6 separate regions of the Homo sapiens genome follow, and all the other regions are linked to region 1. Evidence: promoter capture Hi-C in human tissues and cell types (Jung and others, 2019). All regions are on one chromosome and are shown on one strand. The core of a region is centred on a gene start or on the middle of the fragment in contact, and the rest is flanking DNA. Distances in the headings are between cores, read along the strand shown. Region 1 holds the start of FAM185A (family with sequence similarity 185 member A). Region 2 overlaps FBXL13 (F-box and leucine rich repeat protein 13). Region 3 overlaps FBXL13 (F-box and leucine rich repeat protein 13). Region 4 overlaps FBXL13 (F-box and leucine rich repeat protein 13). Region 5 holds the start of LRRC17 (leucine rich repeat containing 17). Region 6 overlaps FBXL13 (F-box and leucine rich repeat protein 13).

Evidence for each region. Contacts are between HindIII fragments. The study calls those that stand out against the background at their distance.
Region 2: a fragment that was not itself captured here is called in contact with the fragment with the promoter of FAM185A in region 1 in 5 of the 25 tissues and cell types used here (IMR-90 fibroblasts, aorta, mesenchymal stem cells and 2 more).
Region 3: a contact is called between a fragment that was not itself captured here and the fragment with the promoter of FAM185A in region 1, in 2 of the 25 tissues and cell types used here (H1 embryonic stem cells and mesenchymal stem cells).
Region 4: a contact is called between a fragment that was not itself captured here and the fragment with the promoter of FAM185A in region 1, in 7 of the 25 tissues and cell types used here (H1 embryonic stem cells, IMR-90 fibroblasts, aorta and 4 more).
Region 5: a contact is called between the fragment with the promoter of LRRC17 here and the fragment with the promoter of FAM185A in region 1, in 3 of the 25 tissues and cell types used here (IMR-90 fibroblasts, aorta and mesenchymal stem cells).
Region 6: a contact is called between a fragment that was not itself captured here and the fragment with the promoter of FAM185A in region 1, in 4 of the 25 tissues and cell types used here (H1 embryonic stem cells, IMR-90 fibroblasts, aorta and 1 more).

The regions. Positions count from the first base shown.
Region 1 is chr7:102,747,602-102,751,763 of GRCh38, forward strand. FAM185A (family with sequence similarity 185 member A) reads left to right here and starts at 1,398. Exons shown (of 8, transcript NM_001145268.2): 1 at 1,398-2,057; 2 at 4,091-4,162. The coding sequence starts at 1,607. It also overlaps the pseudogene RASA4DP. RefSeq lists silencers at 1,088-1,177, 1,218-1,387 and an enhancer at 1,121-1,415. The HindIII fragment of the contact is 9,642 bases long and covers 1-4,162 here.
Region 2 is chr7:102,987,660-102,991,821 of GRCh38, forward strand. All of the region lies in intron 7 of FBXL13 (F-box and leucine rich repeat protein 13), which reads right to left. It overlaps NFE4 (nuclear factor, erythroid 4), which reads left to right. Exons shown (of 3, transcript NR_166512.1): 2 at 374-573; 3 at 716-1,194. Among named protein-coding and RNA genes, the nearest start is that of NFE4, 16 kb to the left of the region's middle. RefSeq lists enhancers at 3,857-4,162, 4,083-4,162. The HindIII fragment of the contact is 5,278 bases long and covers 1-4,161 here.
Region 3 is chr7:102,951,715-102,955,876 of GRCh38, forward strand. All of the region lies in intron 9 of FBXL13 (F-box and leucine rich repeat protein 13), which reads right to left. Among named protein-coding and RNA genes, the nearest start is that of NFE4, 20 kb to the right of the region's middle. The HindIII fragment of the contact is 3,113 bases long and covers 408-3,520 here.
Region 4 is chr7:102,929,399-102,933,560 of GRCh38, forward strand. FBXL13 (F-box and leucine rich repeat protein 13) reads right to left here. Exons shown (of 21, transcript NM_001394494.2): 10 at 2,483-2,535. The region is part of intron 1 of LRRC17 (leucine rich repeat containing 17); the gene reads left to right. Among named protein-coding and RNA genes, the nearest start is that of LRRC17, 18 kb to the left of the region's middle. The HindIII fragment of the contact is 7,115 bases long and covers 1-4,162 here.
Region 5 is chr7:102,911,248-102,915,409 of GRCh38, forward strand. It overlaps LRRC17 (leucine rich repeat containing 17), which reads left to right and starts at 1,753. Exons shown (of 4, transcript NM_001031692.3): 1 at 1,753-1,898. FBXL13 (F-box and leucine rich repeat protein 13) reads right to left here. Exons shown (of 21, transcript NM_001394494.2): 12 at 1,839-1,968. The HindIII fragment of the contact is 8,626 bases long and covers 1-4,162 here.
Region 6 is chr7:102,892,403-102,896,564 of GRCh38, forward strand. All of the region lies in intron 12 of FBXL13 (F-box and leucine rich repeat protein 13), which reads right to left. Among named protein-coding and RNA genes, the nearest start is that of LRRC17, 19 kb to the right of the region's middle. The HindIII fragment of the contact is 7,461 bases long and covers 1-4,162 here.

The DNA of each region.
Region 1 (4,162 bases), core at 148-2,647:
GAGACTTGTACCCATGAGAACTTTAGCCCAGTCTATCTATCACGATAGCCCCAAGAATTCTGGTCATTGTACTTGGGTAAGGGCTTCTATTTTTTAAGGCACTTGCATTTTATGAAATGTTAGTGTTTGCAGGTGTCTTGGCTAAATAATTTAGGGAATACATTTTAGGAGGAAGTAGGGGCACAGAGGGGGAGAGAGAAACCAGGCAGGAAAGAAGAAAAAAAGAAAAAAGAAGAAAATAAATCTTTCTGTTCCCATTATTTTACTGCCTATAGAATTATAAAAGGTAAACACACACACACACACACACACACACACACACACACCCCTTATAGGGTCATTTAGAACCATCTTTCTTCATTTTAAAACTAAAGAAACAGGTCTAGGTGACACAGATGAAGCAGTGGCAGAGCCAGGAAAATAACCTGACCCTTGTCCCTGCTCTTTCCACCGCACCATGGTGACTCTCTTTTTTGTGTCTTTTTTTTTTTTTTCACTCTAAAACTGAGGATCATTTGTAGTCAAAGAGATCAATGCTATTCTCAAAACAAGTTCTGATCTCTCATAATTTTCTTGGTAACTCAGAATCAATGTTAAGTACGTTGAAATAAAAATACAGTTCTTTACACGGTAATTTTGTAGACTGTGCACCACGGTCCCATCCATTTTCTTACTTGATCCTTACAAAAACCCTTTGAGGCAAGGCAAGGAAGGTATTATTATCTACATTTTTAAAGTGAGCAAATTAAAACCCAAAGTAAGGTCACTTAGGGTCAGGACGGAGCAAGTACTCTATTCCTATATTTGGAATATAGGAGGGAATACACTTCCAAAGAGGCAATTCCCTCAAAAAGCACCAATCTTGCTCTTTACTTTCTTACCAAGGCATTCTCCATGCCCTGGAGATGCCCTCACTAAGTTAGTGAAGCTTGGATGTTGACATCCACAGAGGTTACTCCTAGTTTGCACCTAGTTGTCATCTTAAAAAGCGCAGTTTCTTACCCCTTCCCTTGGTCCTGATCCTTATTTAGGCTCCTATTTTTCTCTTTGGGATTTGGCGTCCTGGGTCTCACTCCAAAGCTCCACCCTCTCCAACCAAGAAGTCGCGTGCTTGGTATCCAAGGTGACCACGCAGCTTTACCCGCGTTGCCCCTTCCGTGCTTCCCATTGGCCAGTGGACTCCCATGTACCGCCCCTCCAATAGCCAATGGTCTTGAGACAAAGGGCGCCCGCCTTTCCAGCGATTCTAACACCTACCCTCTTACCCGTGCTCCCCTGCGCATTGCCTCCTGGGAAATGTGGTTTCTAAGAGGCAGAGCTCTGCGACTTAGAACTACCTATCCCGTCGGCCTTAGCGAAAGGGGGTGGACTTAGGCAAGGGGTCCAGGTCAGAGTTTAGAGCTTTCAAATCCCAACTTGCCCCTGGGGATTGCGCGGCTGATGTTTAGAACGCCTAGTCAAGCCAACCGGCTCGCTCTTGTTTCAGCAAACCCTGACTTACGTCTCCTATTTGACTTGAGGCGGCACAGTGGCCAAGTCGATTGGCCGTGGCAAGTGACCCTCCCTGTGGCTGAAGTGTTCTGAGGACTGGCGAGAGAGGCGCGCCATGCTTGCCCCCTGCTCAGGTTGGGAGCTTGGCTGCTTCCGTCTCTGTCTCCGTCAGGTCCGACTGTGGGCTGGCGCTGGGCGCTGGGCTTGCTGGGCTTGCCAAGCCAGGCCGTACAGCTCAGGTGGGAGCGAGCGCTGGCCCGGATCGGAGACTGAGGTCCCTCCGCCTGGCCCGGGGCGCCGAACTCTGAAGGAGTGGACACTGCAGGTGAGCCCGTTTGGTCGGCTGCGGGCGCGGCTCCCGTGCCACCTGGCCGTGAGGCCCCTGGACCCCCTCACCTACCCGGATGGCGACCGCGTGCTGGTCGCGGTGTGCGGCGTGGAGGGCGGCGTGCGGGGCCTGGACGGCCTGCAGGTGAAGTACGACGAGGATCTGGAGGAGATGGCCATTGTGTCTGATACTATCCACCCCCAGGCGTCCGTGGAGGTGAACGCGCCCCTGAAGTTTGGCAAGTGAAGTGAAGTGAAAACGGGTTTGGGTCCCAGGGAACGCACAGTGAACTTAATAAATGTGGTCGACGTGCACTTTTAATTGGTCCTGGCTCTCTAAACCTAATTTACAGTTGGCCCCTTCGGAAATGCACCTTTTCCTCTGTTCTGTTCTTGAGTGTCCGAGTAGTATTTAAAAATTAGGTTCCCAATTATAGAAATTTTATACATCGAATGGAAACATGATTTGGTATAATCCAGGTCAAATTCTATTTCTGGAGCCGCTTGTGTTCTCCTTTATCCCGTTGTCATTAGCAAACTGGCTTATTTTTCAAGGTTGAAGTTTCTTGACAATTCATTCAATGGTATGGCAGTCCATCTACATTTCATCTTGCTCACAGCCTGGGGGTCTGTCCCAAAACAGCCCTGTCAATAGGATGTTCCGGGTATCACCTGGTTTGAGTATTTGGTTTTAGACGGGCGCCCAGCTTCTTACTGTTATATTTCCATTCTTTTTGGCCTAAGTTTTCCATGAGTAGCAAGCTTTGAAGAAAAACACATGGTAAGCCTGCCTAGGAAGCTTCAATAATAATGCCTGCAAGATACCTTTCTTAGCTTTTCCTAAATGGCAAGCCACTGTGTACACACACTTTTCTAGGAAGGGCTCCCCAGACTGTCATTCTTCCTGGGACTGATGGAAGATATTGATGATGATGATGATAGTAATAATAATAGCATTTAGCATTTTTAAGATCATCTTTTATAATGCTTAGAGTTGCCCAAATAGTAGATGCCGTAGTCCTCCCTTATCCACCGTTTGGCTGTCTCAGTTTGTTACCTGCCTCAGCTGTTGTAGGAAAATATTAAGATATTTTGACAGATCACAGTAATATAACTTTTATTACAGTATATTGTTATAATTGCTGTATTTGTTATTATTGTTCATCTCTTACTATGCCTAGTTTATAAATTAAACTTGATCATTGATATGTATACAGGAAAAAACATAGAATATATAGGATTTGGTACTATTTGTGGTTTCAGGAATCAAGTGGGGGGGCGGGTCTTGCCTACTTTAAGAGAAATCATCAATATTTATGTTAATTCCAAATTAAATATCAGCGTTTTTAATTTTTAAAATTTGTATACAGAGATGCCTGCAGTTACATCTTAAATAGACAGCCAAGGATGGCATTTGTAATTCCTTATTTTCCAAACTTGCTTCATATACCACTGCCATTTGTCCACAATCTTGTGGGGTTTTTTGTTTGTTTGTTTTGGTTTTTTTTGAGACTGCATCTCACTCACTCTGCCACGCAGGCTGGAGTACAGGTGCACAATCATGGCCCACTGCAGTCTTGACTTCACGGTTTTAAGCAATCTTCTCGCCTCCACCTCCTGAGTAGCTGGGACTACAGGTGCATGCTACCATGCCCGGCTAATGTTTTTGTTTTTTTGTAGAAATGGAGTTTTGCTACATTGTCCAGGCTGGTCTTGAACTCCTGGGCTTCAAGCAATCCTCCTTCCTCGGCCTCCCAAAGTGCTGGTATTACAGGCATGAGCCACTGCTCATGGCCTAATCTTGTAGTTTTAATAGTATATATTAGCTTTTTCAAAGTTGTTCCCATTTTTAAAAAATTACTTCAAATACCTGTGATATAGTTGCATGGTAATATTTTCATTTTTTAAGTATGAAAGGTTAGACATAGGATTTGAAAACCTAAGTCATGATCATATATACTGGGGAAGAGGCTTCTACAGTCTTTCACAGGAGTACTTAACAGAATCGTAGTCTCCTTTACTTCCCATCTATGTTAGTTCTCTTTAGGTGATTTAGGCCAGTAGAAATAACTGCTCTGTTTCTAAAAACGGGCAGAAAGGCTATTGTTTTTGGTCCCGTTGCTGTGGTAGAAGACCCCTTACCTTTACAGTATGCACTTTCCAGGATTCAGCAATATTACGGACATAACTGAGGAGTTGGGTTTCTAGGTTAAAATGCTTTGGAGCTTATAAACTGCAGTACTAACTTGCTTTTTTCTTTTTTTACTTCTAGGTTTAGATATCAAGTCATCAGGGTCTGGCTGTGTAAAAGTTCAAAGTATTGAGGGTGATAATTGCAAAATTG
Region 2 (4,162 bases), core at 273-2,772, 240 kb after region 1:
AATGAAAACGCATCTTGAGTGGGTATCATACACTAATCACTAATGGGACGTGGAGAATTTTTTTTAAAAGGAGAAGTCCAGGATGATTCCCACAATTCTAATTTGGATGACAAGTGATGACACCATTTACCAAGAAAGCCCAGGAATACAGAGGGGTGGGGAGTAGTCCCATAAGAGAGGTGGGGAAGTAACGGCTTCAAGCTGAACACGCTAGGGGGTAGATGCTATGAAATATTCCAGTGGAGTTACCCAGCAGGCATTGTTAAATGACCTGGGTCTTACAAGAGAGTGATGGCTGGAGATACACAGATTTGGCAATCGTGAGTAAACAGCATATAACTATAACCTAAAGCATGTATTTGAAATCACCCAGGGAGTGAAGATGGAATGAGAAGAACAGAGAAACAATGACAGAGTCCTTACAAACACCATGATACAAGAAGGCAATGGGGATATGTTATCCTAAAGGAATCCTAAAAGAAGTGATCAAAAAGGTGAACAGAAAACCAAGTGGGAGTACTGTCACTGAGGATGAGTTTCCAGAGAGAATTAATGCTGAAGAAGCTATTGCAGGTCAGTGGTCAGTCTAGCTAGCACTGCTTCAATGAAGGGTAAAGATATGCTCAGGAATGTCCACTTTAAGGGGCGGGGATGATACTTGCACTGGATGCTGCACTAATCAGATAACACTTGGAATATTTTTTTCCACCTCCAGACACTGCTGAGTATGAAGAACTAATTGGAGAAGGAAGCCGTTGTATAGCAGATGCAGAGCAGCAGCAAAAATGGTAATGAAAATAGAAGATAAATTAGAAAATTTGGAAAAACCCAAACAGATCAGCCATATTGAAGGGAAAAAGAAAAACAAAACAAAGTGGGAGGGCAGAAATGTAGAACGGTATACACTCTTTTAACCCCAAGGATGAATGTAGCCAAGAACACAGTGGGGACTTAGGAGTCTCAGCACAGAGCATTCTCTACTCCCTACTGCTCAGGCAAAGAACTCCTTCATCATGCAGAACCAAAACTGGTGTAGAGTCTTAAATGACCTGGGTATCTCTACGCAGAAGAAAGCGCTTTCCATGTAAAAGGATTAACTTGAACCTGGGTGCTCAAGGGACACCCTAGGCTGCTTATCCCACTGATTCTGATCTGACTGTGTTAAGTAATAAATCATGTGGTTACATATTCACATTATCTTGTGTAGTTTTCTCTCACATTGCTACTTAAAGAGAAACCCCAGACACAATAATGAGGGAGCTCAGTATAAGGGTATGAAGAGATCCAGGCAAGCTATAACCTGGAGAGCTCCTTGCCCTTCAGAAGGTGAGACCACTCAGAATGAGGGAGAAAACGTGGCCCAGCCCACTTTATGAGGAAGCTACAAACAGAATTCTTAGAAGACAGCAGCCAAGGGAGTAGCAGGGATGGGGACAGGGAGGGCTGAGACTAGAAACTCACAGAGGAACAAACAATTGAGTAAACTGGAAACAAGTAACCACAAAAGCACTAGAAAATAAAATGAAAGCTTTGCATGAATAATTGACAAATTTGATCTTCCTTGTGAATGCAGAAGAAGGAACTAGAAACAAAAGATAATGAGGCCGCTTTCTCTGCTTTGATCTGAAGGACAACTTTCTAATTATCTGATCTTTCCCAAGACAGAACAGAATGCATCGCAAAGTCAACAGACTCTCCAGCACAGAAAGTACTAGACCAAATGCTGGATAAACATTACTGCTAATGGAGACGTTTCATTGCCTTGGCCTCACATCTCTATCTAGAAACACTTTAGAAACACTCTGGGCCTCTCTCTCTCTACCCCTCATATCTTCCCAGGAGAAGAGGAGGAGTGTTTGGGAGAAAGAACTAGGCTTGCAATTCAGCTCCTGCTCCACCCTGCCTTGACCTGAATGCAAGATGCATGCATCCTGGTCTGCTCTCAGCAGCATAGGGAGGCCTGCAGTTGTTCAGCTGTGCAGTGACCGAGGGGCGAGTCTATCTGATTCAGGGATGAAAGAATGAAGTAGTATCCTTTGTCAGTGATCTTAAGTCATAGTCTCCTATCAGCTGTATCAGAAAATATGTCCACTTCCATCTCTCTATTTCTCAATTGGTTCCAAACTCAGATACGGAAGAGGGTGCCCTCTAAAACCTCAAGAACATCTGTGAGGAATATTTTCCTGTAAAAGAGGTTGGATCACATAACTCTAAAATTGCTGTATATGTAGAATTCAGTGACTCTTACTTTTCAGATACTTCTAGGACCTTCTAACTTAATGTCTCATTGACATTTCAAATTCACTGAATCCAAAATTAAGTTTCTCTTTCCCCAAAACCAGTTGACTCTCCCGACATTACTGCACATCATAAGTAGCACTGGCTTCACATTCATCAAGATTTAAAAGGTTAAAGTTTCCAAATAATAGGTAAATTGGAAATGTCCTTATCATGATTCCAAAGCAATGCCGACACCAGAGAGTGGTGGGTGAAAGCCTAGCTGTGACTGCCATGACCTAGTAAGAATGTAGGGCAAAGAGAGAGAGCCAAAGCCAACATCTGGAGGTACAGTCAGACCAGAGCCAACATCTGGGTGTGAGGAGAGAGCAAGAAACCTATCCTGAGGATAGAGAAATAATTCCCAGAGAAAAGAAACAGGAAATGTCATGCCACAGAAGCCCAGAATCAAGTGCTACTGAAAAAGCAAGACAAGAAGGGATCATAGGCAATCAGATTTGATGATTAAGAAATTCCTGGGACCTTGATGAGACCAAGTTTGTAATAGTGGAGCTGAAAAGAAAACATCATTTTTCATTCGATCATTCAACCAATATTTATTGGGCATCTACAGATTGTGAATTCAAAGCAGGTAAGACACTGTCCCTGTCCTCAAGGCACATATAGTCCAAGAAGAAAACACAAAATAGGCCATTATAAGAGAGTAAAAAGTATCTCAAGAGGGACTCTGGGAACAGAGAGGAAGGGTAACTAACCAAGACTGAGAGAGAGGACAGAGGATCAAAGGTAGCCTTTCTGGAAGAGATGACATCTGAGCTGAGCCTAAGCAGGACTGAGTAGGGCAAGGAAGAAGAGGAGAGAGCCTACAAAGAGAGCACGTGATGGGTGAAGGCATATGGCCAGAGAGGGTGCCTTGAACTTGGGTAACATGGAGTAACTCCACATGGCTACAGCCAAGGGCTCGTCTGGAGCAATGATGGAGAATGCAGCTGAGAGGTAGTGGAGGCTAGAACTGGAAATCCTCATGCAGCATGTTAAAGCCAACAGAGTTCAGGAGAGATTTTAACCAGGAAGTGACATGAATAAATGTGATCTGAGAAAGACAACTCTGGTGGACAAATGAAAAATAAGTCAGGTGGTCAAAGTCAACAGTCAAGAGTAGATGCCAGAAGACAAATTCAGTAGCTTTGAATTTGATAGTAATGTCACTAATAGACAATGAGTGCCAGAGAGAATGGAGAGAAGAAAGAAAGTGAAATTACATGCTAAAAAGAAAAAAATATGCAGTAGGGGGTAAAAGAGAGAAGTCAAAGATATTTCCAAATTCTGGCCAAGTCAGCTGAGTAGATGATAGTGCCATTCATTGAGAAACAGGATACAAGAGACAGGGTTGGACAGGATATGGGGGAAAAGGAAGGTTGGAGGAAGAAAATGATGAGTTCTGTTTTGGTAATGATGAATTGGCTTGTGCCTTTGGAACACCCAGGTAGAGACTGTTTAAAGCAGTTTTTGAGTGTCACAGTGGGCAGGTGGGAGGTAGTGTCAAGAAGTCTGCCAACACATAACAGGAGAAAAATAGAATACTTAGCAGCATTGAGAAATGATTTATAGGAAAGGAGTGAGTCAAACACATTTTTAGACATGAAGGAATAAATCAATAGAAAGAAAGAAATTTAAGATCATAGGACCAGGGAAGGCATGGGAAAGAGCAAGTTGGCAGTTCTCTCCTGTTTAATGTTACCTTGTAGTGCAATAAAAGGAGGGCTGTCTTTGGAACATAAAACACGGACTCTTGAGTTAATTGATAAATTGCTTCAATGCAAATCACAAGCCACCTGAAACAGATGGTAAACTGCTAAAATAAATTAGGTTCCACCAACCATTCCAATGGAACATTGTATGATATGGAAAGAAAAATACTTAA
Region 3 (4,162 bases), core at 714-3,213, 200 kb after region 1:
GGATCACTTAAGCCCAACAGGTTGAGGCTGCAGTGAGCTGTGATCATGCCAGTGTACTCCAGCCTGGGCAACAAAGTGAAACTCTCTCTCCAAAAAAAAAAAAAAAAAAGATTGGAGTGGAGATAAGCAAAATAGAAAATAGAAAATAGAGAATTAATAAAAATAAGGGTTTTTTTGAATATCCATATTTATAGTAGTATTATTCACAATACCTAAAAGACTGAAGCAACTTTACTGTCTATTATTGGAAGAATGGATAAACAAAATGTGTTATATACATACAATAAAATATTATTTACCCTTAAAAAGAAATGCTGACACATGCTAAAATAAGTAAACCCTGACGACATTGTGCTAAGTGAAGTAAGCCAGGCACAAAAGAACAATTATTGTTTGATTCCACTTATATGCGGCACCTAGAGTCATCAAATTCATAGAGATGGAAAGAAAGTAGAATGGTGGTTGCCAGGACCTAGGAGGAGGGCAAAAAGCGGATTTAGTACTTAATGGTACAAACTATCAGTTTTGTGAGATGAAAAAGTTCTGGAGATGCATCAGTGATGATGGTTGCATAAGAATGTGAATATACTTAATGCTACAGAACTGAACACATAAAAGTGGTTAAAATGGTAATTTTTAGGTTACATATTTTTTACAACAATGAAAAAAGAACCAAATGGTTGTTTGAAACAATCAACAAAATTTGCAAACCTTTACCTAGACTGACCAGGAAAACAAGAGGAAAGACTAATATTATTAAAATTAGAAATGAAAGTGGGTACATTAGTACTGACTTTACAGAAGTAAAAAGGATCATAACAGAATATTATGAACTGTTGTACCCCAACAAATTAGATAAACTGCATGGAATTGACAAATGCCTAGAAACACATGAACTACCAAAACTGACTCGAGAAGAAACAGAAGATCTAAATAGAGCTATAATAAGTAAAAATACTAAATCAGCAATCAAAAAACCTCCAACAAGGCCAGGCACCATGGCTCATTCCTGTAATCTCAGCACTTTGAGAGGCTGAGGCAGGTGGATCACTTGAGGTCAGGAGTTCTAGACCACCCTGGCCAACATGGCAAAACCCCGTCTCTACTCAAAATACAAAAATTAGCTGGGTGTGGTGGCACGCACCTGTAATCCCAGCTACTCAGGAGGCTGAGGCAGGAGAATCACTTGAACCCAGAAGGCAGAGGTTCCAGTGAGCCAAGATTGCACCACTGAACTCCAGCCTGGGTGACAGAGTGAGACTCCATCTCAAAACAAACAAACAAACAAACAAACAAAAAAACCCTCCAACAGAGAGCCTAGGACCAGATGGCTTCATGGGCAAATTTTACCAAACATTTAATCCTCAAACTTTAAACCAAACATTAATCCTCAAATTCTTCCCAAAAAATAGAAGGAAAAAATACCTCCTACCTCATTCGATGAAGCCAATATTATCCTGACAAGGAAGCCAAAGACATCACAAGAAGGAAAAACTACAGAGTAATATTCCTTTTAAATATAGATGCAAATATCCTCAAAAAATATTAGCAAAGAGAATCCAGCACCATATTAAAAGGATTATACACCATGATGTACGAACAAGCAAGACTGATCTCAGGCATTCAAGAGTGGTTCAACAGACGAAAAAAAAAATCAATCAATGTAATATACGCAATAATAATAGAAGGAAAGAGGGGAAAACCATTTCAGTTGACTTAGAAAAGGCATTTGACAAAATCCCATCACCCTTTTATAATAAGAACACTCAGTGAAGTAGGAATATATGGGAGCTTCCTCAATGAGCAATTGTGTAAGAAAAGAAAAAAAAGGGAGAATGGGTATGAGCTTCCTCTTTGGGCTGATGAAAATGGTCTAGAATTAAATAGTGCTGGTTGCTCAACATTGTTAATATAATAAAAAACACTGAATTGTACTCTTTAAAATGGTTAAAAAGGTGAATTTTATGTTACATAAAATGTATCTCAATAAACAAAAGCTTCCAGATAAGCATGCCTTGCTATTTCTCAGAAACTCATTCCACTGTTCAACTACCATTGCTATCATGAAAATCTTAGGTCAAACTGAAACCCTGAATGTTGCAACTTGAGTCCATTTCCTTCCTTCAGAAAATGCAGATGTATTTAATAGTATATTTTCTATGTATATTTCATATGTGTATATATGTGTGTATACACATATACCTATAGGGAAAGAGGGACAGACAAAAACAGAGAAACAAGGGGTGTTCCAAGATGGCCGAATAGGAACAGCTCCGGTCTGCAGCTCTCAACATGATCGACGCAGAAGACGGGTGATTTCTGCATTTCCAACTGAGGTACCTGGTTCATCTCACTGGGACTGGTTGGACAGTGGGTGCAGCCCACACAGGAAAAGCCAAAGCAGGGCAGAGCATCGCCTCACCCAGGAAGCACAAGGGGTCGGGGGATTTCCCTTTCCTAGCCAAGGGAAGCCATGACAGACTACCTGGAAAAATGGGGCACTGCTGCCCAAATACTGCACTTTAACATTCTTAAAGAAAATAATTTTCAACCCAGAATTTCTTATCTAGCCAAACTAAGCTTCATAAGTGAAGGAGAAATAAGATCCTTTACAGACAAGCAAATGCTGAGAGATTTTGTCACCACCAGGCCTGCCTTACAAGAACTCCTGAAGGAAGCACTAAACATGGAAAGAAACAACCGGTACCAGCCACTGCAAAAACATGACAAATTATAAAGACCATCACTGCTATGAAGAAACTGCATCAATTAACAGGCAAAACAAACAGCAAACATCATAACGACAGGAAAACATTCACACATCACAATATTAACTTTAAATATAAATGGGCTAAATGCCCCAATTAAAAGACACAGACTGGCAAATTGGATAAAGAGTCAAGACCCATCAGTGTGCTGTATTCAGGAGACCCATCTCATGTGCAAAGACACAGGTAGGCTCAAAATAAAGGGATGCGGGAAGATCTACCAAGCAAACGGAAAGCAAAAAAAGGAGGGGTTGCCATCCTACTCACTGATAAAACAGACTTTAAACCAACAAAGATCAAAAGAGACAAAGAAGGCCATGACATAATGGTAAAGGAATCAATTCAACAAGAAAAGATAACTATCCTAAATATATATGCACCCAATACAGGAGTTTCCAGATTCATAAAACAAGTCTGTAGAGACCTACAAAGAGACTTAGACTCCCACACAATAATAAGGGGAGAGTTTAACACCCCACTGTCAATATTAGATAGATCAACAAGAAAGAAGGTTAACAAGGATATCCAGGACCTGAACTCAGCTCTGCAACAAGCAGACCTAATAGACAACTACAGAACTCTCCATCCCAAATCAACAGAATATACATTCTTCTCAGCACCACATCGCACTTATTCTAAAATTGACCACATAATTGGAAGTAAAGCACTCCTCAGCAAATGTAAAACAACAGAAATCACAACAAACTGTCTCTCAGACCACAGTGTAATCAAATTAGAACTCAGGATTAACAAACTCACTCAAAACTGCACAACTACATGGAAACTGAACAACTTGCTCCTGAATGACTACTGGGTAAATAATGAACTGAAGGCAGAAATAAACATGTTCTTTGAAGCCAACGAGAACAAAGACACAACGCACCACAATCTGGGACACATTTAAAGCAGGGTGTAGAAGGAAACTTATAGCACTAAATGCCCCAAGAGTAAGCAGGAAAGATCTAAAATCGACACCCTAACATCACAATTAAAAGAACTAGAGAAGCAAGAGCAAATTCAAAAGCTAGCAGAAGGCAAGAAATAACTAAGATCAGAGCAGAACTGAAAGAGATAGAGACACAAAAAACCATTCAAAAAAAAACAATGAATCCAGGAGTTTTTTTTTTAAAAAGATCAACAGAATTGACAGACTGCTAGCAAGACTAATAAAGAAGAGAGAAGCATCAAATAGACTCAATAAAAAATGATAAAGGGGATATCACCACCAATCCCACAGAAATACAAACTACCATCAGAGAACACTATAAACACCTCTATGCAAATAAACTAGAAAATCTAGAAGAAATGGATAAATTCCTGGACACATACACCCTCCCAAGACTAAACCAGGAAGAAGTTGAATCTCTGAATAGACCAATAACAGGATCTGAAAT
Region 4 (4,162 bases), core at 552-3,051, 180 kb after region 1:
CGCCTGTAATCCCAGCACTTTGGGAGGCCGAGGCGGGTGGATCACTTGAGCTCAGGAGTTCGAGACCAGCCTGTCCAACATGGTGAAACCCCATCTCTACAAAAAAAATTCAAAAATTAGCCAGGTGCAGTGGCACGTGCCTATAATCCCAGCTAATTGGGTGGCTGAGGCAGGAGAATCACTTGAACCTGGGAGGTGGAGGTTGTAGTGAGCCACGATGGCACCACTGCACTCCAGCCTGGGCAACAGAGTGAGACTCCATCTCAAAAAAAAAAAAAAAAAAAAATTAATTAAGTTAGAAATTAACTGTCAAAAAGTGAACAGAATTGCATAGGGCCGGGGGTTGAGAGAAAATGAAGGGTGACTGTTGATGGGCATGGGTTCTGTTAGGGGTGAGGGAAATGTTCTGAAGTTGGTTGTGGTGATGGTCAAACAACTCTGTAAAAATACCAAAACCATGAAATTGTACACTTTAAGTGGGTAAATTTAATCTCAATATAAATATAAATTTATTATATCTCAATAAAGCTGTTTATTAAAGGTCAATAAACAAAGAGAATGGAAAGACCCGATAGCATTGAAGAGTGTGTTAAAGAATGAACAGGTGTTAGCCAGTTTGGGCTAGGGGTGGTGGGGAGGGAAGGGTAGTCATTTAGGCAGATGGAAAAACAAGTTCAAAGACACAATGAAATAGCATGACATGAACAGGGAACTTCAAGTGGTTCAGTATTGAAATAGAGTAGAATTTTGAAAGAAAAAACTAGAAAGATGAGGCTGTAAAAATGAGGCTGAGAGGTAGCAGGGAGGGGCCAATTCATGCAGTCTTTTCACCAGCGAGGAGGGCTTGGCCTTCATGGTGGAGCTGGTGCCTCATGATTGGCATTCCACAGCCAGGCTTTTCCTCCTATTCCCTCCTATCTCGTTAGGGACTTACTCCATGAGTTGCTTCAGCTGACTCTCCATCATCCTCTATAAACCTGTTTCCATTTCCCTGCCCCTGTTTTCCTTCTACCACTCTCTAAGACACTTTTCTGGAAAGATCAGTTTATGCCTAATGCCTCACCTTCTGACCTCTTCTCCACTTCACAATTCATTGCAAGTAGATTTCTGCTCCAATATCCCACTGAAACTGTTGAAGCAATAATTGGCAGTCCCTTCTGATTCTCAAATCTACAATGCATTGTTCAGTCCTTTTCTTACCTGTTCACTTTGGTTCTTTCTGAAACTCTTTACTCACTTTCATTTTGTGATACCTCTTCATTGTCAACCTACTTCTCTTACTATTCCTTCTGAATATCCTCTGTTCCTAAAAGTCAGCATTCCGTAAGGCTCAACTTTAAGTCTGCTCCTCTTCTCAAACCTTCTAAGTTGATCTTATTCACGCTTATGATGTTAATTATGACTTATACATAGATGTCAACCCAAGATGGAATCTCAATTCTAGTCAATGTTGTCCATTGCCTACTTGGTATCTCCAGATAGTTGCATTCACTAAATATTATTGAATATAATATGCCAAAGTTCGTGCTGTTGTGCTATGACTACCACAAAGAACAAGACACATCTCCTGCCCTTTGGGTCTCTTAGGCTAGTGAAGGAAGCCAAAACCCTATGGTTAAGGATACTTATCATAGGAACCTAGAGGAGCAGCAGTGAACCCAGCCCTGGGAGCCAGTGATGTCTTGGTAGAAGAGGTGATAATAAGACTTAAAGCTTGATAAAGAGGAAAGCACCACTTGGGGACAAAGGGAAAGGGCATTTTAAGCAAAGAGCAAATGCACAACTGCAAGGAGCAACTTGGAGCATGCAGGAAAAGGAAACTCAGCAGCTGTAGGCACTGCAAATTAGTGTGTACACAGAAACTGAAACAAGTGAGGCTGGAAAGGGAGGCAGAGGCAAAACCACAGAGGGTCTTCAAGGTAGAGTAATATTAAAGAGCTTTGGCTTTATCCAACTGTGTAGATGACGGCAGTGTGTGTAGCTGGTGGAAGATGAGAGTGAAGTAGTCATATCTGCCTTTTACAAAGAGTATAAAGTGCTCACAGAATGGAAGACAGGTTGGGGACAGAGGGAAAGACTGGAGACAGGAACCAGGAAGAAAGCAACTAGGGAAACATATTCATTTCCATCTTCTTTGGCACAGCTGTTGATAGCCATGAAGATAAAATGAGCCTATCATGTCTACTGGGGCCCAATTTTTTTCTGTCTCATACACACATACCATTAAATATAAATACAGTTCATTTTGGGTAGTCATTGAAGAATTTCTACTTGCCAGAGGCTCCAACACTGAGCATACATCTACATGATTAATATTAGCGTTGTGCAGATGGAGTAAAATTTCTTGTCAATGTTTAACATAGTTTGCTCTTTTCCACATTGAATCCCAAATAAGCACACAAGCATCTATTCTGCATATTGGCACCCCAATGTAGCAAGTCAATCTATATAAACAGCAGTAAAAATGGTTGCTTATACTCACTGTGAATGTTGGGCAGTCAGAGACATTCAACTCTTGCAAGTTCCTACAGTGGCCTAAATCAAATAAGTTACACGTCACTAAACTACATATTGCAAATGTTTAAACAAAGTTTTTCTATCTTACATTGAATGCAATGTATTCATTAGAAAACAAACAAAAACCTTGGCAAGTAACATGTTCTAAGTATATGGTTTCTTTCCCCAGAAAAATGGCTTTTTTGGGCTTCAGAATTAAAATACACAGACATGTTTATTATTGTTTGAGGATTATAGGAGTAAGGGGAAAAGAGAAAAATATTACTTTGGGAAAAACACTATATACTTAGAGCTTTTAGCTTGAAAGCACTTGAAGAAAACCAACCTGGTTTTTTGTGCCTGCTTTTTTATTTTTTTGTTTTCATTTAACATTTTATTATGAACATTTTCAAACATACACAAAAGTGGAAAGAATTGTACAATAAATATCTATATAGCCACTACTTGGATTCTAATTTATCTTTTACTGTATTTGCTTTATCACATATCCACCCACTCATTCATCTCTATCTATAGCCCTCAATCATCTTATTTTTGTATGCATTTCAAAGTAAGTTGCAGACACCAGTACACTTCCCCCCAAATACTTCAACATGTATATCATAAATAATTCAGCATGTATAATAATAAACAGAATAGTTGACATACAGAATACAATAGTTATTCTGTTTGTTTGTTTCGTTTTTTTGAGACAGTTGAGACAGGATCTTGCTCTGTCAGCCACGCTAGAGTGCAGTGGCACCATGTTGGCTCACTGCAGCCTCAACCTCCCAGGCTCAGGCGATCCTTTCACTTCAGCAACCCCTACTGTCATTCCCAAGTAGCTGACACTACAGGTGCATACCACCATGCCCGGCTAATTTTTGTATTTTTTGTAGAGACGGGGTTTCCCCATGCTGCTCAGACTGGTCTCAAGAGATCTGACTGCCTCAGCCTCCCAAAGTGCTGGGATTACAGGCATGAGCCACCGCACCTGGCCAGAATAGTTATTTGAGAGTAATTCATCAGTTCAACAAATACTTATCAAGGAGATATAGCAGTTAACGAAATAGACACAAATATTTTCCCTTAAGGAGTTTACTTTCTAGCGGGGAGACACTAACAGTAAACAAAAGAAGTTAAATACCATATCTACTTTGACAGATGGTGGTAAGTGCCATGGAGAAGAAAGAAGAAAAGGGATTGGGAGCACCCAACAAGTGGGAAGAAGTGTGATTTAAAATAGGGCTGAACAGGAAGTTTTCACTGAAAAGGTAACATTTGAGCCAAGACATGCAGGAGATGACAAGGACAGTGCCATTTACTCCAAGCATCTCTGGAGCCCACACCCAACATGGTTGGTGACTGGGAGACAGAAAAGGATAGAAAAAAAAAAGGCTCAGGAAGACAACAATTCAAGTCCTACCCTTGTGTGTGCATCTCAAGGCTGTGTTCTTTTAAAGAAGGAGAATTCTTTGAATTTCTTAAATCCGATGTGATGGTGAACTGCAGGCTTCGGTTTTCATCATGCTGAGTCCTAACATTTGTGACTACTTCCCCCGGGGTGGCCATGTGAAGCATCTTATGCGCATGAGCCTATTTTATCCTCCCAACAATATTAGGAGGTATCCTCGGTCCGTTTTACAGATGCTGAAGATGACCCAGG
Region 5 (4,162 bases), core at 503-3,002, 160 kb after region 1:
GAGAATATTTATCCTTAGGACACTTGTGTATACATTTGTGTGTTGTTGCTACAATAATTGCCTCATGGTAACTGAGAAATTGATAAGAAGAAGGAGGTAAGTCATACCATGAGGAGGGTTTAAGCACAACGGCGAGTTAGAAAAGTACTGAAGGATTTATAGTTAAGGGGCAGGCTTATCAGTGGGATATGTCAAGCACATTAAGTTGTTCCTGAGTTTGCAAATATTTTTCTCTGTGATTGGGCCATTGGCATTTGCTAATTGGTGCCCATCAAAGTTAGGCTTCTACCCACCCACAGGAACTGAGAGATATCTTCTTTGATGATTATATATCAAAGGGATAGATCCCAGGTCCTTGAGGAAGACTTTCCTGAGTTGTAAAACTGTCAAGAAGCTTTTGTTAAAAAGACATCTCAAAGTAGGCAGAGAAAGAACTTATAATTCCAAGTTTTCTAAAACAAATGCTCTAAGAAACAAGAAAACAAGAAGTCAGGGCCTAGAGTCAGTAAGAAGCTGGTCTAAAATTCAGTCATGCTGAGGAGAACGTCAATGCCATCTCAGTCATAAAGTTATGGTAGATGTTGATGTTTAAAAAGCTACACATCAGCAGATCAGTTTTAAACAAATATGAATGTTAGATGTTTACAGCCCTAACTTAGAATCCTCCCCTCCTTGCCCCAACTCCCTCCAGACCACCCAGGGCATCAGGATACCACAAGATGTCAGTGGAGGTGACTAGGTAAGAATTCTATCCATTCAAGAACCCTGGGGGAGAAACCCATGCTGCCCCTGTATTTCCCACTATCCCAGGGAACTCTGCCTGCCCCAGTATCTAGCAACAGATGCTTAAAACTGTACTAGTACCATGTGCTTTCATCAGCTGTGCAAACTTGGGCAACTTATTCAACCACCCTGAGCCTTGGTCTCTTCATTTGTAAATAAGCATAGTAAATACATACCACCACAGCACTGTATCAGAAGTAAATCTGATCTGTGTATAGCACTCAACACAATGCTTGGCATATGGTAATGACTCAAGAAATGATAACTATCAATATTTCAGCCAGTTCTCACCTATGCTATTATTCTCATAGAATAATGAACATACTATGACACCAAATTAATAAAATACACAGAGAGGCAGAAGAAAATAAGTTAAAAGAATTATGGCTTAAATCTTTTGAAATTAAAGCAGAAGAAACTATCAATGAGGCAGTAGCTACATCCAAAGCGCCATGCCCTATCCTCTGCAACTTGATCCAATTTTCTGCCCAACTTTCCAAGTCCTGTTCCCTCAAACTTAAAATATTTTCCCACGCAGATCTCAAATCTTCATGTTATTCAGCCCAACGGTGTAATGCAATTTTTTAAATTATGAGTTTTTGTTGTATTTTCTTTTCCTATTTATCACTTATAGCATTTTACCCCCCCCCCCCCAAAAAAAAACCCATGTGGGAGTTAATTGACTTTTCAGGAATCCCATGCAAAATTCTCCCTCAAAACATTCTCTTTGTTTGTGTCTTGGTAGCAACTCCAGAGTTTTCAGGACTTGGACTCTGCTTTAGACTTGTGCTCAGACTGTCTCCACAAAAGTGGTCCGTTTCCTCATCCAATGAGCTCTGCCTGTTTGTCTGTGTGACACTCCAGTGGAAGGAAGCCAAGAGCCTATAATAGCGATCCTGGGGAAAATTTCAGCAGCTGGGGCCATGTAATTTAAAACCTCTGAAAAGTGTGCTGCGGTCCGTGCACAGCATTAGTATAACGTGAGGGCTGAATGCAGCCCATTCTCTGGAGAACTTCCTCACACACCGCAGCAAAGAGAAGACTGAAAGACAAACCTGGGTGCAGCCAGAGAGGTCCAGATAGATGAGCTTGTGGCATCCATTCCCCAAGTTCAGGTACTGTAAGCCTTTGTCTGTGAACCGTCTGCAATAAGCCAAACTAAGATTCTGTAAGTTGTGGAAGTGCCTGAAAAGACAAAAGAGAGGAAGGAAAGTATTATACTTCCGTTGTTCTCTCAAATCTTTCTTAAGCCACTATGACAAAGAAAACTGTAAATTCAACTCTTCTTCTTGCAGATGTTCAACATTTAACTTTACTGTTAACTCTCTACCTGTTAATTAAAGGAGACTACAGTGTTATATAAGGTAACACACAATACATTTAATACCTTGTAATACATTTCAAGTGAAAGTATTAATAGTTCAATAATATTTGCCTAGATATTTAAGAAAGTTGACTGGGATAAAGCTTTTTTGGTGTGTGTGAGGTGGGGGAGGCAATCATATTGTTTGGAAGTGAAACCAAATTTGCAGAGTGTATTGTTGCTTTTAGGTTTTATCTCTGGAGTACCAAAATAATGTGCAAAATATATAAAAGGACAAATCCTTTGTAAACATTTAAATGGAGACTGTTACAGGAGAGTGAGGATTTGGGACAGAAGGCAAAACTGAATATGACCATGCTCTTAAAATAGATCTGATAAGCAAATGAGTTTAAAAAATAGGTTTAAATATGCATGAGTTTGTGACAGTTTCATTATTATAGTTAAAGAAAGACTAATTGATATGCAGAGTTTAAGCATGGATTAAGAAGACCAGTTTGCAAATAAGCAGGCAACACATGAGAAGAATCAAAAGCAACATCAGAGACTATAAATCTCGCTGGAGTTGAAACAGATTAAATATGGTATTACCACAATGACCAAAATGACAGCTTCCAGAAAAAAGTAGGGTAGTTAGGATGAGCCTGTACTACCATACGAGGGCTCGCAGTTTGAGGACACTCCGTGGACAATTTCCCAAGCCCTCCAAAGCCTGGAACTTTTTTTTGAGACGAAGTTTCGCTCTTGTTGCCCAGCTGGAGTACAATGGTGAGATCTTGGCTCACTGCAACCTCCTCCCCACTCCCCCAACCCCTGGTTCAAGCGATTCTCCTGCCTCAGCCTCCCAAGTGGCTGGGATTACAGGCGCGTGCCAACATGTCCAGCTAATTTTTGTATTTTTAGTAGAGACAGGGTTTCACCATGTTGGCCAGGCTGGCCTCGAACTCCTGACCTCAGGTGATCCACCCGCCTTGGCCTCCCAAAGTGCTCGGAACAGGCATGAGCCACCGTGCCCAGAAAGCCTGGCACTTTTTAAGAGGTCAAGGATTCCCACTACTATCTGCTCTTCTAATGGAATTAGCAATCATGCTCTTAGTTTGTGATATGCAACAGCTTAATAGCAAATTAGAAAGCAAAAAGAATGAAAAGTGAGGAGAAAATGCTTCTCTGCCTCTCAAAATCACACAGGTGAATAAAGTTTACCTCCCATAAATGGGAAATAAGATATACAAGCACTGACCATTAATCAGATTTTGAAAAACACATCTATATGATATAATGATTTGCATGCCATAGCGAATTACTTGATTCAGAACACACATCCCGATCTGGGAAGGGCTGTGTACGTGAGATTCGACAGAGCGAGGGGGAAGGCTTTGGACTCACCAGTGACTAGGTGGGCAGGGCCTGAAGGAGAAAGCAGTGCTAATATCCCAAAGACACGCCCCCTCTCTTGGGGCTGTCGAGTGGACTGAGCTGTGCTAAAGTTTTGGAAATGCGTTATCTTCCTCTCCCTGGGGTACACCCTGTGATTCAACTGAGTACAATTTTCTTGGGGTGGGGAGAGGCACACCAGGGTGTCATTTCTAGCAATCCTTTAGCTTTATAATCTGTAGAAAGGAGTTGTGAGGCAGGCCGCGTGACACAGTGCAAAATACACAAGGTTTTTGAATCCGGCCAAATGAGATGTAAATCCAAGCCCTGACACTTACTGCAACCTCCCTAATCTCTCAGAGATTGTTTTCTCATTTGTTAAGTGGAGATTAAAATATTTTTTTTTTTTTTTTTTTTACACTGATCAACTGTGGGGCCTCCAGCTTTCCTGAACCTCAGTTTTCTCATCTGGAACATGGATGTAATCTGGTCTGCTTGTTCCCTTTAAAGATGTGACAATTAAATGAGAATACAGAAGTAACAGTATTATCTTGAGGGTGATTTTAACAATCAAAATCGGCAGGGACATAGTAGAAGATTTAAAACTATATGTAATATTATTGCTACTACTATGTGAAATGATAGTAACACATTAACTATTTTTATGGACTTTGTATTATTCTT
Region 6 (4,162 bases), core at 694-3,193, 150 kb after region 1:
TTAACAACCATTTAAATTTATATAAGTCCGATTTACAAGATATATAAAAATGTTTTCATAAATTCTACAATTTTTTTTCAACACAGGTTGAAGTCTGGTTCAGAAAGGACACAAACCATTCCTCTAACAGGGAAACTGAGGCACAATAACTGACCCAGAAAAGCAGGAATTGCACTGTGATTTTTTTGACTCATAACTACTTTTCCACTAGAACTCCTCCTTATTAAATGATACTTAAAACCACATATTTTTTCAAATACAAAATGCAACAATTTTTTTAACCATATGTAGTATAGCACTTTAGTTTCACAAATGATATTCTTATATTAAAAACCAAGGTAGTACATACTCAAAATGTGTCACTTCCTCATTTTTACCACATTAGCATTATCTATGTTCTTGAGGATATTAATGTCTATCATTTCTCTAGAATATTACACAATAATGTGCTACTGCATATCTCTTCCCAACTTCCTGTTGGTAGCTTAAAATAGGCCATGGTGAGAGTATTTACACCATAGAATTCAGCCAACACTAAAAAGTCAGGCTTTTCCTGCCCTTTATTATTCCATACAATAAAGGAAAATGGAATCAGCCAAATATAAGTGCATCACAGTTTTGAATTTAACTGTTTCCAATTCATTTTGATACATAATCTGGTCATTCACAACTGGTTTAGCTGGTCACAAAACTCTTGTTGTTCCAATTAACGTTTATTGACAGACTTCCAAATCTATACCTTCACTCCCAGCTCTCTTCCAAGGACCAGACTTCTACTTCCAATTTGTTCTTGTCATTTGTACCCAGATGTATCACAGCAACCTGAAATTTGGCCTTTCCAAAATAAGATTCACTATTCTTTTTTCTCCAATCTTGCTCCTTTTTTGGTTATCTTGTCTAGTTACCATTTAGAAACACAAAATCCTAAAGCTGAAAAAGACCTTAGAGGTTATTTAGCCCAGCCTAGCCATTCTACAGGTGAAGGAATCGAGGCAGAAAAACCAAGTAACTCCAAGGTTACACAACTGGTTAGTAGCATAACAAGAAATAGATCCCAGGTCTCCTAACTTCAAGAAAGGAGAGGCTGGGCGCGGTGGCTCGCGCCTGTAATCCCAGCACTTTGGGAGGCCGAGACGGGCGGATCACAAGGTCAGGAGATTGAGACCATCCTGGCTAACACAGTGAAACCCCATCTCTACTAAAAATACAAAAAAAATTAGCCAGGTGTGGTGGCGGGGACCTGTAGTCCCAGCTGCTGGGGAGGCTGAGGCAGGAGAATGGTGTGAACCTGGGAGGTGGAGCTTGCAGTGAGCCGAGATCACACCACTGCACTCCAGCCTGGGTGACAGAGCAAGACTCTGTCTCAAAAAAAAAAAAAAAAAGAAAGAAAGGAGAAGGATGAGGAGGGAATGGGGGAGGGGGAGAAGAAGGGGAAGGGAAAGGCGAAGGGAGAGAAGAGAGGCGGAGAGGAAGAAAGAAAAAGAAAGAGAGGAAGGAAGGGAGGGAGGGGAAAGAAAGAGAGAGAGAGACAGAGAAAGAGAAAGAAAGAAAGAAAGAAAGAGAGAAAGAAAGAAAGAAAGAGGAAAGAAAGAAAGAGGAAAGAAAAGAAAGAGGAAAGAAAAGAAAAGAAAGAGACAAAGAAATTCCTCCCCTGACTCTTGCTTTGCTTATGCAATCTCCATTCAATTTGGCTAGTACATTCATCCCTGGACATGCCTGTGTGGCTTTCTCCAACCTCCAACACAAATCCCAGGGGTGAACAAGTAAGACCTTCCATGATCTCTGCTTCTCTGAAAGGAGAAGGTTGGAATTTATGTAACCTAGAGAGAACTGAAATGACCTTGGAATCTTCCAGTTTGCAGTTTGTACAGCCTACCTTTAAGTTTCGTGGGCTCTAGAGAGATTTAACAGTACAAGAACTGATAAGCCATTATTACTGCATTGAGTATTATAATCATTTGAACATTCCTAGAATACTGTCCCTTTTCATTTTTTGTTGATTTGTGTATAGTGATTAAAATATAATTGGTGAAAAAATAGAGTGCACATGGTGACTCATGCCTGTAATCCTGGCACTTTGGGAGGCTGAGGTGGGAGGATTGCTTGAGCCCATGAGTTTTAGACTGGCCTGGACAACATATTGAGACCCGTCTCTAGAAAAAAAATTTGAAAAGAATTAACCAGGCTTGGTAGCATGCGCCTGTAATGCCAACTACTTGGGAGGCTTGAGGCAGGAGGATCCCTTGAGCCCAGGAGTTTGAGGCTACAGTGAGCTATGATCACACCACTGTACTACAGCCTGGGTCACAGAGAAAGACTTTGTCTCTTAAAAAAAAAAAAAAAGAGAGAGAGAGAGAGAAAATACTTTCATTTTATATTTCATAGCTTCCTAGGCACTTTTCTTTCTGTAAATTTAAAGAAATATCAGACTTGACCTTACCAAGAAAAGAGATCATCAAGCCTTGCTCTAGCAAGTTACCAACTTCCCACTACGTAACAGGCATCCTGAGCTTCCACCTGAAGCACCTGGGGAGGCATGCCCTGAAATTGGCCACAGTCTCATTCATTCATTTGTCAAGCTTATCAAAGTCCTACTATGAGCCAGGTATTGTATTATTTGCTAAGGATACAGATACACAATTATATAAGGCACCATCCCTGTTTTCAAAGAGCTTACCTTGGGAAGGAGAGCAGACAAGCAAGCAGATAATTGAATATGTAGAGAATGCTTAGTGAAAAGTACAATGATAAAAGTATACACAAGAGGGATACTAACCCAGCTTGGAATAGGGCAAGGAACGGCTTAGTGAGGCCCTTCTAGAGAAGGCTGTGATTGAACAGAACCTTGAAGGATAAGTGCAAGTTAATGTGGTGAATGGAGGAAAGGGACAGTAGCAGGATGTCCAGGCAGAGGGCAAAAGGTGAGCCTAGTGAAACAACTGAGGCTGGAAATGAAGAACAGGGGAGGCACCGAAGCAGAAACCCCTATGGCAAGCTCCCCTACTGTCTGGTTTCACTATCCTAAATGTAAACATATAAATCTGAAACACGGTCCAAACTCCTCACTTTTCATCCAGCTTCTTCTCCAACTCCACATTCAGAGTTGTTGGTTTCTAGGCATTTGGGCTTGAACCTGAGCTTGAGTGGGCCTCAGCCTTGCTTCCCAGCATGTCTGGTTGTTCCATGCCTGGCTTCCTGCAGAGGGCCATAACCCATCGTTGCACACAGTTGAAGATACATGAATCTGTAGGGAAAGTGGCTACCCCATGATAATGTCAATGGGAGAATTGTTGGAGTTACACATAAACAGAGCAGAGGATAAAGGGAAAGTAAAACCAGGAATCATCACCCTCCCAATTGGCACTTTCTCATGTACAAGTAGGATAGCTTTGTTCTCCCCATTAAAACTCTTTCTCCTACTCATATTTTCCATTCTGAGACTCCAAGAGAAACACGGACATATTTTAGAGAGCTCTGAAATGAACTGGGAACTAATGTGAATCTCCTTGGAGCATTTTAGCTAGTACATTTTATCCATTCATTCATGGGAATATTTAAGGAAAGACTTAGAGGAAGTTAACCACGAAGATATCTGTAGAAAGATTCCAGACAGGGGAACAGCCAGTGTGAAACCCTGCAGCATGAGCCTGCTTATGTTTTTGAAGAATAGAAAAGAAGCCAGAGTGGCTGGAGTAGAGTTGGCAAGAAGGAGAACAAGAAATACTGTCAAAGGGGCAACTGGAAGATGAGACAGATTTCTCAGGGCCTTGTAGGTCCTTCCAAGGCTTTTCTTTTATTAAATGAATAAGAAGGCTTGCCAGGTACTTAAGCAGAGGAAGGACATTGACTTGGGTTTTTAAAGGATGCCTCTAGATATTATGTTGAAAGTAGACTTGCAGGAGGCAGGGGTGAAAGCAGAAAGGCCAGTTAGGAGGCTATTGGAATAACCAGGCAAGAGATCATGGTAACTTGGACTGGGGTGGTGGCTGTGGAGATGGTGGTTGGATCCTGATTAGATTCTGCAGGAATAGTCAACTGCACTTCCTAACAGAGTGGATGTGGAGTGAGAGAAAAGAGTCAAGGGTAATGTCTTAGTTTGCTAGACATGCTGTAATAAAGTACCACAAACTGGATGGCTTCAACAACAGAAATGTATTCTCTG